Regions from separate parts of the Homo sapiens genome. Here region 1 is linked to region 2. The links are contacts of gene promoters, found by promoter capture Hi-C in human tissues and cell types (Jung and others, 2019). All regions are on one chromosome and are shown on one strand. Each heading gives the region's core, a stretch centred on a gene start or on the middle of the fragment in contact. The rest is flanking DNA. Distances are from core to core; before and after follow the strand shown. Region 1 overlaps SLIT3 (slit guidance ligand 3). Region 2 holds the start of SLIT3 (slit guidance ligand 3).

Evidence for each region. The method cuts DNA at HindIII sites, captures the fragments that hold promoters and counts their contacts. A contact is called where the count stands out against the background at its distance.
Region 1: a contact is called between a fragment that was not itself captured here and the fragment with the promoter of SLIT3 in region 2, in 2 of the 25 tissues and cell types used here (mesendoderm cells and thymus).

What each region holds. Positions count from the first base shown.
Region 1 is chr5:168,733,998-168,738,299 of GRCh38, forward strand. The region is part of intron 20 of SLIT3 (slit guidance ligand 3); the gene reads right to left. Among named protein-coding and RNA genes, the nearest start is that of SLIT3-AS2, 29 kb to the left of the region's middle. The HindIII fragment of the contact is 5,291 bases long and covers 1-4,302 here.
Region 2 is chr5:169,298,659-169,302,795 of GRCh38, forward strand. It overlaps SLIT3 (slit guidance ligand 3), which reads right to left and starts at 2,481. Exons shown (of 36, transcript NM_003062.4): 1 at 1,855-2,481. The coding sequence starts at 2,051. The HindIII fragment of the contact is 12,348 bases long and covers 1-4,137 here.

The sequences.
Region 1 (4,302 bases), core at 1,373-3,872, 560 kb before region 2:
CATACCGAGTAGAATAATGGACACTGGAGACTACAAAAGGTAGGAGGGTGCTGAGGGCTGAAAAACTACCTATTGGGCACAATGTTCAGTATTTGGGTGATGGGTACACTAAAAGCCCAGACTTTACCACAACACAATATATGCATGTAAGAAACCTGTACTTGTACCTCCTAAATATATTGTTTAAAAAGTCAACTGACTGTAGATATTAATTGCATTTACAAAATACCTTCACAGCAACATCTAGACCAAGTATGTGACCAAACAACCGAGCACCACAGCCTACCCAGTTGAGACAGGAAATTAACTGTTAGAGCCCTGCCTCCTGTCTTTGGTTCATCTTTTATCAGACTTTCCCTTGACCTCTGGTTCCAACTCCACTGGCCTTAACCTTCCTAAAATGCCCCATCCCCTCTGGTGGGGGGCAGGTGTTTGTACACACTAGTGTCTCTCCTCCCTCCTTGCCAGGTTAACTCCTACAGATGCATGGATCTCAGCTCCAGCATTAGTTTTTCAATATCAGTTCCCACACCTACCAATGATATTACAGGTGTTCCATGTGCTGGTGATATTACAGAATGTTCCATGTGCTGGTGAAAAGAATGTATATTCTGTAGTTGTTGGGTAGAATCTCTGTAAATGTCTATTAAGTGCTTTTGGCCTAAAGTTATATAAGACAGCCAAAGCATTGGCTGTCTTTTCATCACAGCATTTGACCCCCATGGTGACATCTTTCGTGTGATTCTGTGATTAATGTGGGCAGAATCATGTCTGCTTGGCTCACCACAGCATTCTCGCACTCTGCCTGGCAACAGCAGATGCTCAGGAAACGTCATCTGTGTGATGAAAACCCCTGAACTCCTCAGGGAGAGCTGCGTTTGGCATGATGGAGCCAAGCACAAGTTGCTTTCAGTGCAGAATGTCCCCGGCGACCTGGCAGCACAGCTCAGAAGACTCAGAATCAAAGCTTTCACATCAGAAATGCAGATGCAGTGGTGGGGAGAGCTCTCTTTGTAGCAGGCCCTTCATGAAAACTCTGAACTCCAAAGTTGTCTGTAGCCTACAGTCCAGGCTCCCAGAGGGACCCTTTCAGGAGACTGCCCTCTTGCCCCACCAGCCTTAGAACTGCCGGAGTGTTTCTGGCAGGTCACCCTTTGCATTTGGCCTGCATTTAAATGCTCTGTTTCAGCCCCAGTGCAAACACACAAGGACACATCTGCCTTGCATGAAACTCCACACAGATCTCTGTGAATGGGTGTTCCCCATTCCTGTTTGGAGCTTTGGGGTGCTGACTGATGCCCCACAAAGAACTCAAACCAGCTGATGTTAATGGAGAGGGAGGGAAGCCACCTTCCCAGAGACTCTGCTCCAGGCCAGAATTTCCACTAGAGTCCTGGAGTGATGTGGGGGCAGCTCAGGGGTCAGGCAGCTGAGGCTCACATCCTGGCTCTACTATCTAAGAGCTGTGTGACCCTGGGTGAAGTACTTAACCTCTTTGAGCTTACATTTAGTCACCTGTAAAACAAAGCTTATAATGATCACCACCTTGATGTGATTCTGAGGATTAAATTTGAGTCTCTGTGAACAGTTCTCAGAGCAGTACCCGGCACACTGGTGGCCAACACATTTTAAATATACATACACATACATATAGACAGATAGATACACACACACACACACACACACACACACACACACACACACACACATCTCCATCCAATAATACACATAGCTTATTGAAAGATAATGTTCCTCTTGCTGTTCATTCTCTTCTTCTTCCTCCAGGGTAGTATTTCTAAAATGAGAATTGGATCATGCCACTTAAAATTCTTCCTGGATTCCTGCATTTCTCTTGGAGTCAGCTCTCCCTATACCTACAAGAACTTACATATCCCTTCTCAAGCTTTCAGCACACATCACCCTCTTTGTCATCCTATTTGCTCCATCTCACAGCCTTCTTGGTTTCTTGAATTTAAGATCTTTCCACCTTGAGGTCTTCATAAAACATGTTCTTTCTACTCTGTTTCCCTCCTTTACTTTCCTGGGAAATCCCCCTCTACTCCTGGTGTGAAATGCCTGATCTGGTCGGTTTTCTTACTGTCTTTCTCCCCTACTCTCAGTTTCTGAGAAAAGGGATCTTATCTGTCATGGTAGCCACTGTACCTTCAGCTGCTACCACAGTGTGTGGCACAATGAACTCAATGAATGGAAGGGAGCCTTCTCAGCTCTCGGCCTGTGCTCAGGCCACCCACAGCCCCTCCCATAGATGGCTGTCACTGTCCAATAGTGTGGAGAAGTGTCCTCTACTGGTGCCATCTGCTGAGGTCTTCTCTGGGCCAGAGCCTGTGCCAGGACTCATAAGTGCTGCTGTGCCCAGAGCTGGTCCACTCTCCAAAGATGTGATCAACCCCTCCAGCTGGCTGGAGGCACATTTCAGTCTCTCTCCCTGGGCCAGAGAATGTCAAGGATGTAGTCAGTGCTGGGCAGTTGTTCTATTAAGTGCTCTGGGGAGCATGGGGGATATGAAAAGCAGCAGGCTCTTCTCGGGCAGCAGCTTGCCTTGCTAGAGAAGGCCCAGCTGTCAGGATGGACATAGCCAGAACCACTGACAGGTACCTATAGCCTCATGGCAGGCTGCCTGGGCTTGCCTCCTCCCTGCTGCAATGCAGAGTGCCTGGGCTTGCCTCCTCCCTGCTGCAATGCAGAGTGCCTGGGCTTGCCTCCTCCCTGCTGCAATGCAGATGTCAGTTTTCAAGAGGACCCATGTAAGCCCCCAGCAAGCCAGGCCACTGGGCAGAACACATAGGGACCTGGGTTTCTGCCACAGGGAGGACTTGGGGTCAGATGGACCTGGGCTTGAGTCTATAGTCTGCTGCTTATTGGCAGTGTGATCGTCAAAAATTATTCAACCTTCAGTAGCTCCGGTTATCTCACCTGCAAAATGGGAATAATGACACTTGCCTTGAAGAGTTGTTAGCAGGGTGAAATGAGATTACCTATTAAGAAAACCCAGCACAGCACTTGGTACACAGTAAATGCTCTAGAAATGGTGGCTGTGGTGGTTTGTAGCATAGGCAGGACATTCTTGCTTGCTTTCTTAAAGGCCAGGTGGGCAGAATTTCCTGGATTCCTCTCTTCCCAGAGCACATATTGCCTGAGCCACTCCCTTGTGCTTGTCATCTGCTGCGTCGCACTCCCCCTTCTCCTGCCTGCATGTCTCCCCCAATAAAACTATGGATGAGGACCAAGTGCCACTGAGCTTTCTGGACCCCAGACCTCCATCCCCTAACTCCTTGGAACCCACACAGTGCCAGGCCAGGTCCTTCTTGCTTCTTCAACCAGTGCATTCTTGTCATCACCTCTTGCCACACTCACTCTCAGAGAGTTGCATCTCAGCCCTGTGCCCTCCTACCTCCTGGTTGAGCCCCATCCTTTTCCTGTCTCCTGTCAGTGCTGTGCACACACACACACACATGCACATGCATATGCACACTGCCAGCCTGCTTCCCACAGTGTTCTCAGACCCCGCATCCTAATACAAATCCTTTCTTCCAATAGTTGTGCCTGGAGCTATGTCATCCTTCCCCCCTCTTTTCCTTGGGATATCAAGTTATAGGACAACAAATCCATGCTCATTGTCCTTAGACCAAAAATATATGTCTAAACATCATGGATATTAACCAGGGGTAGATATGGGGGAAAGCTGTTCACCAGCACTGGATTCTGCATTTCTTCTCTAACCGTTATGAAGATGTAGGCTTTGCAGAGTTTGTTTCCAGAACCAGGAAACCTGATGTTTGTAAACATTTCCATAAATGGAAGCAAGCAGATTTTTAGGTTTCAGTTCTAAAATAGTGAGGTAAGCATGAATTTAAAAGGACAGTTGCATGGCAATAATTGTACTTTCTGAAGGCAGTGAGGCCCTACCTTCACAGAGAGTATTCTGGTGACTTTGAGGGCTGAGATGTCCTGTATTTGCTTCTGTCCTGCTTTCCATAAGATTCTGTAAGCTTGCCTTTTAAATTAGGAACTTCGTGCTGACTTAGAGCAGTTATCTCTCTCTATCCATTGCCCACCAATATGTAATGACCAGAGTGGTTCTCAAAGTGTCATCCATAGACCCCGGGGGTCCCTGAGGCTTTTTCAGGGGTCTATGAGGCCAAAACTATATTTACAATAAGGTTAAAATGTTATTTTCCTTTTGCCCTGTGTTGACATTTGCACTGATGGTACAAAATTAGTGGAGGGTAAAACTGCTGGCACCTCAGCATGAATCAGGACATCGCTACCAAATGAAACTGG
Region 2 (4,137 bases), core at 1,231-3,730:
TCGTGGCCCAAACTGACCCTTGTTCCAAGGATGACCAGGAGAGTGATAACGGTTGTGGGCTTAGGAACCAGTCAGGCTTGGATCCAAACACTTCACTAGCTGCACGACCTTGAGTAAATGACAAGATGGCTTAACTGTGAAAGGGAGTAATAAGCATTGCCTATGTAACTAACAGGACTGTTGGAGTGATTCAATGAGATAATACATATACACAAATCAAGGCATGAAAAGCATTTATCAAACATTAGCTATAATTATTATTTCACTAACTCATGTGGCTAGCACTGGTGTGACGAGGAGGGGAACTTAGTTTACAAGTTATAGGTATCTAAAAATACCACTAAAACAAGTTTTTCACTCCTATGGACTAACTTAATGTCTGAATTAAGGTGTGAAAACCTGGATTCTAGCCCCTTTATTGCCGTCAACTTGCTGTGTTTTCTTGGGCAAGTCATTTTACACTTCCAAGCCTGGTTTTCGACATGTGTTAATAAAGATTCGGCTCTCACCCTTTAGGATTCTGTGGTTCAACCCAACAAAACAATCACTGCACTTGTGGAAAAACAAAAAAGTACTGAGCCAAAGGAAAAAGAGAGCACCAGGAATAAGGAAGACAGTTCTGCTGAGTCTCCACCCAGAGATGCACAAAGAAGTGGAAGAGAAGAGGAGGTGGGGTGATAGGAGGTGACTAGCAGGAATAACACACTCTAGGACAATGCTTGTCATCACTACTCTCTTCCAGCCTGAAGTCAAGAAAGCAGAGTGGAAGATCCAGGCGCCTACCCCTAAGGCACATGAGGAAGGGGAGAAGAGGGAGAGCAAGACACGGAGGGAATCTACCACACTAGAGCAAACCCTCACCCACTTCTCGGCTGGGTTCCCAGTAAGGCTTCCCACCCACTCCAGCGTTTCTCCCCCACTCCCTTACCCCACCCCAACTGCGGACTAAGAGGAGCCCACCCCGGAGTCCAAGTTTTGAATCTGGTCCGAGGATCAAAATGATAAATGTTTCCAAAACGTTGACATATGAAAAGTAAATATTTGGTTGCACAATTGGGGCTAAAACTAGGGTCAATCCACCCCATTCTCCAAGCGCCTCTCCATTCGCTGCCAAGCCCAGGATCTGAGGCTGAGTGCGGTTTGTAAGATTATAACGCTCGGTCTCATTTGAAGGGCTGTCAGCATTTCCATTCTCCGGCCCCTTCGTTCGGGGAGGCATTTATAACCGAGCCATAAAAAATTCACCCGGGGCTGCAACTTGGCATCTCCCAGACTGCGCTCCAGGCAGAGCGGGTTTTGCGAGCACCCACTCTGAATCTGTCCAGTTCCTCAGAAGTTAAACCTTCACCCACACTCTCAACTTTCCTTGCAAGGGCAGCCAGAGAGCGGCTGGCCCATTCTGATCTCCAAGCAGGTCAACAGTCTCGGGCCCTCTCTCCCGCCTCCGCGCCTTGACGGCCCATCATCCTATAGCTTTCTCCTTCGCCCGCCCCCCTTTTTAACGAGCGCAGACCCCTGACCCTCACCCTAAGACCTTGAGGCTGCAGTGCTCTTGCCTCCCCTCGCCTCTCCTCAGCTACTCCTTGGAAGCTGTCAGCGGGCCCTGCGTCTGGAACCCTCACCCCTGGAGAGGCACTGCTCTTTGCCCATCGCTGGGGGTTTCGAGACCTCTCTTTCCAGATCTGACCAAGCCTACAGACCCCCAGCTCGGAGAGTGAGGGATCGTATCCAGGAAGGGATGAGAATAGAGACTGCATCCAGGGAGGCCGAGGGGAAAGGACGGATCTGGCGCCTGGGGCCCCCTCGGTGGGACCCAGGTGGGTGGCCCGCGTGGGGTGGGGCAGGGGTACTCACAGGCGCTCAGCGTTGCGGGGGATGCCCCGAGGAACCGCGCGGAGGCCCAGCCCGTGGCAGTCCACGCTGGCAGCGGAGCAGGTACACTTGGTGGGGCAGGCGACGGCTGGAGGCCCACTCAGGACGCTCGCCAGCGCCAAGGCCAGCGCCAGGCGGGCGCGCACGGCGGCGCCGACCCCTGCCCACCCGGGGGCCATGGTGTGCAGGGCCCCGCTCCTGGAGGAGGCTGCCTCTGCGGGGCAAGACGCGTGGAGCCCGAGGAGGCGCGCGGGGAGCGCGGGCGGCCTGGGGAGCGGGCGGCGGAGTTAGCGCGGAGGAGGGGCGAGCTCGGTGCTCAGGCGCACGGGGCGCGGGCGGAGCGGGGCGCTCCGGGCGGCGGCGGCGGCAGCAACAGCAGCTCCATCGGCGGGGCCGGCGCTGCCCCGCTGCGCATCGCTGGGAGTGCCCAGGTGCGGAGCGCCCCCTGGCCCCGCTGGCCCGCGGGCCGGGTTGGGGACCTGGGGCGAGCGCAATGGGGCGTGGCGCCCGGGGAGGTCCGGCTTGGGGCTGGGCTGGGGAGCGCGGCGGCTGCGGCTGGGGCACGGGGCGGCCGGGTGAGCTGGCCGGCGCTCGCTCTCTCCATTCAGTGAGCACGGCAGACACCGGAGACGCGGGGCCCACCCCTCCGGCCCCCCCCCGACCAAGAAACGCCAACTCCGCCTCCCATTGGCTGCGCCGCGCGTCATGTCGACTAAGTTGGGAACTTTGCTGGAGCGACCGAGAGCCTGGAGGGAGGAGGCAGTAGAGGAGGGAGAGAGAAGGAACCAGGGAAGGAAAGGGGCTCGGCCAGCAGGGCCCCTGGAAAGAAACACTGAAACTCATTCACTGTTAAGATCCAAGGACGGATAAGGCTCCTGACACTTTTTTTTTTTTAATTTTTGCACTGAGCTGAGCACTCTACTCATATTCTTTACTTAAGTCCACGATCTTCCAAGGGGTCGTCTGAAAACAGCTCAGAGAAGTGAAGCGACTTGCTGGAGGTCGCACAGCTGCTAGGGACGCCAAACCATGGCAGTGTCGCCCACGAAGCCGCTTCCCTACCGCACCTAGTACTCATGGCAGAGATCCACAATTTTGCCTGAAGAGCCTTGGTTGACACCAATGTACTCCACAGCTACACACACACACACACCGTGGTCCATGTTGTTGAGGTCACTGCTGGCAAACCTTACCCGGAAACTTGCCCTGCTTTGCCCAGACCCAGCGCTTGGTGGACTGGTAAAAGTAGTGATGGCAGCGACTTGGACCCCTGGATTGACAATGCCTTGTTCCATCCTCGGGTTTCTGCTTCCTGACTGGGTGACTCTGGGCCAATCGTGTCATCTCTGAGCCTTCGTTTTCTCAAATCCGGGGCCACAGTCCTACCTGGCCTCACCTCCCTGGGTTGTTTGGAGCATCACAGAAGAGAACGTGTTTTTGCAAAAGTCATTCGCAGACGAGGCATCCCTTCTGTCCCCAGCGCCTTCTTTCTTCCAGCGCCCGCTTTAAATTGGCTAGGTCTGAGCTTTTCCAGATGCCAGTGGGGAGGGGCGTGTGCGTTAGAGGCTCCATAAATACTTGTAGGAATGATTTTGTTTGTTTGTTTGAAAGGAAAGGGCAGGAACTGGAGGAAGTATTGCCCAGATTTCCTTGAGGTCCCCTCACACTGAGAAGGCCTGAATGAGCCCTGCATATATATACACACACACTGGTGCCTACGTATTCACAGCCACGCACACACTCTCACATACTCAGGCTCACACACACCCATTTATACACCGGCAATCACACACACGTGTACATGCATGCTCGCACACACACTCACATAGTGACAACTATACTCCTGAGAGCGCTTCTCTTTTCTTTCATAAGAATACTATTCTGATTTCTTCTACCTCATTTTCCTTCAAGGAAACTTTCAACTACTTGACCACATCCTGTGAATATATAGTAGAGTTGTAGATTTTATTGTATTATACTTAGCAGATTTTCAAAGTCTTAGCTTTGGGCACCCACTTGCGCGCGCGTACACACAAACACACACATACGCACACTCACTCAAACACACACACTCGAGTCCCTTCATCATTCATAAACACATTAGGTGCAATTTACTGCTGTTATTCTTGGGAACGGCTTTCTGTACAGATGCTGTTGTTATCGCCCCCTGGTGGCTGGCGAGGGTCTATGCTCCGGTCTTCAGGGTGACTTCGGTATTTAAGAACTCTAAACATCCTTTTATCCCTTTGCTCTGAAGCTTTCCTC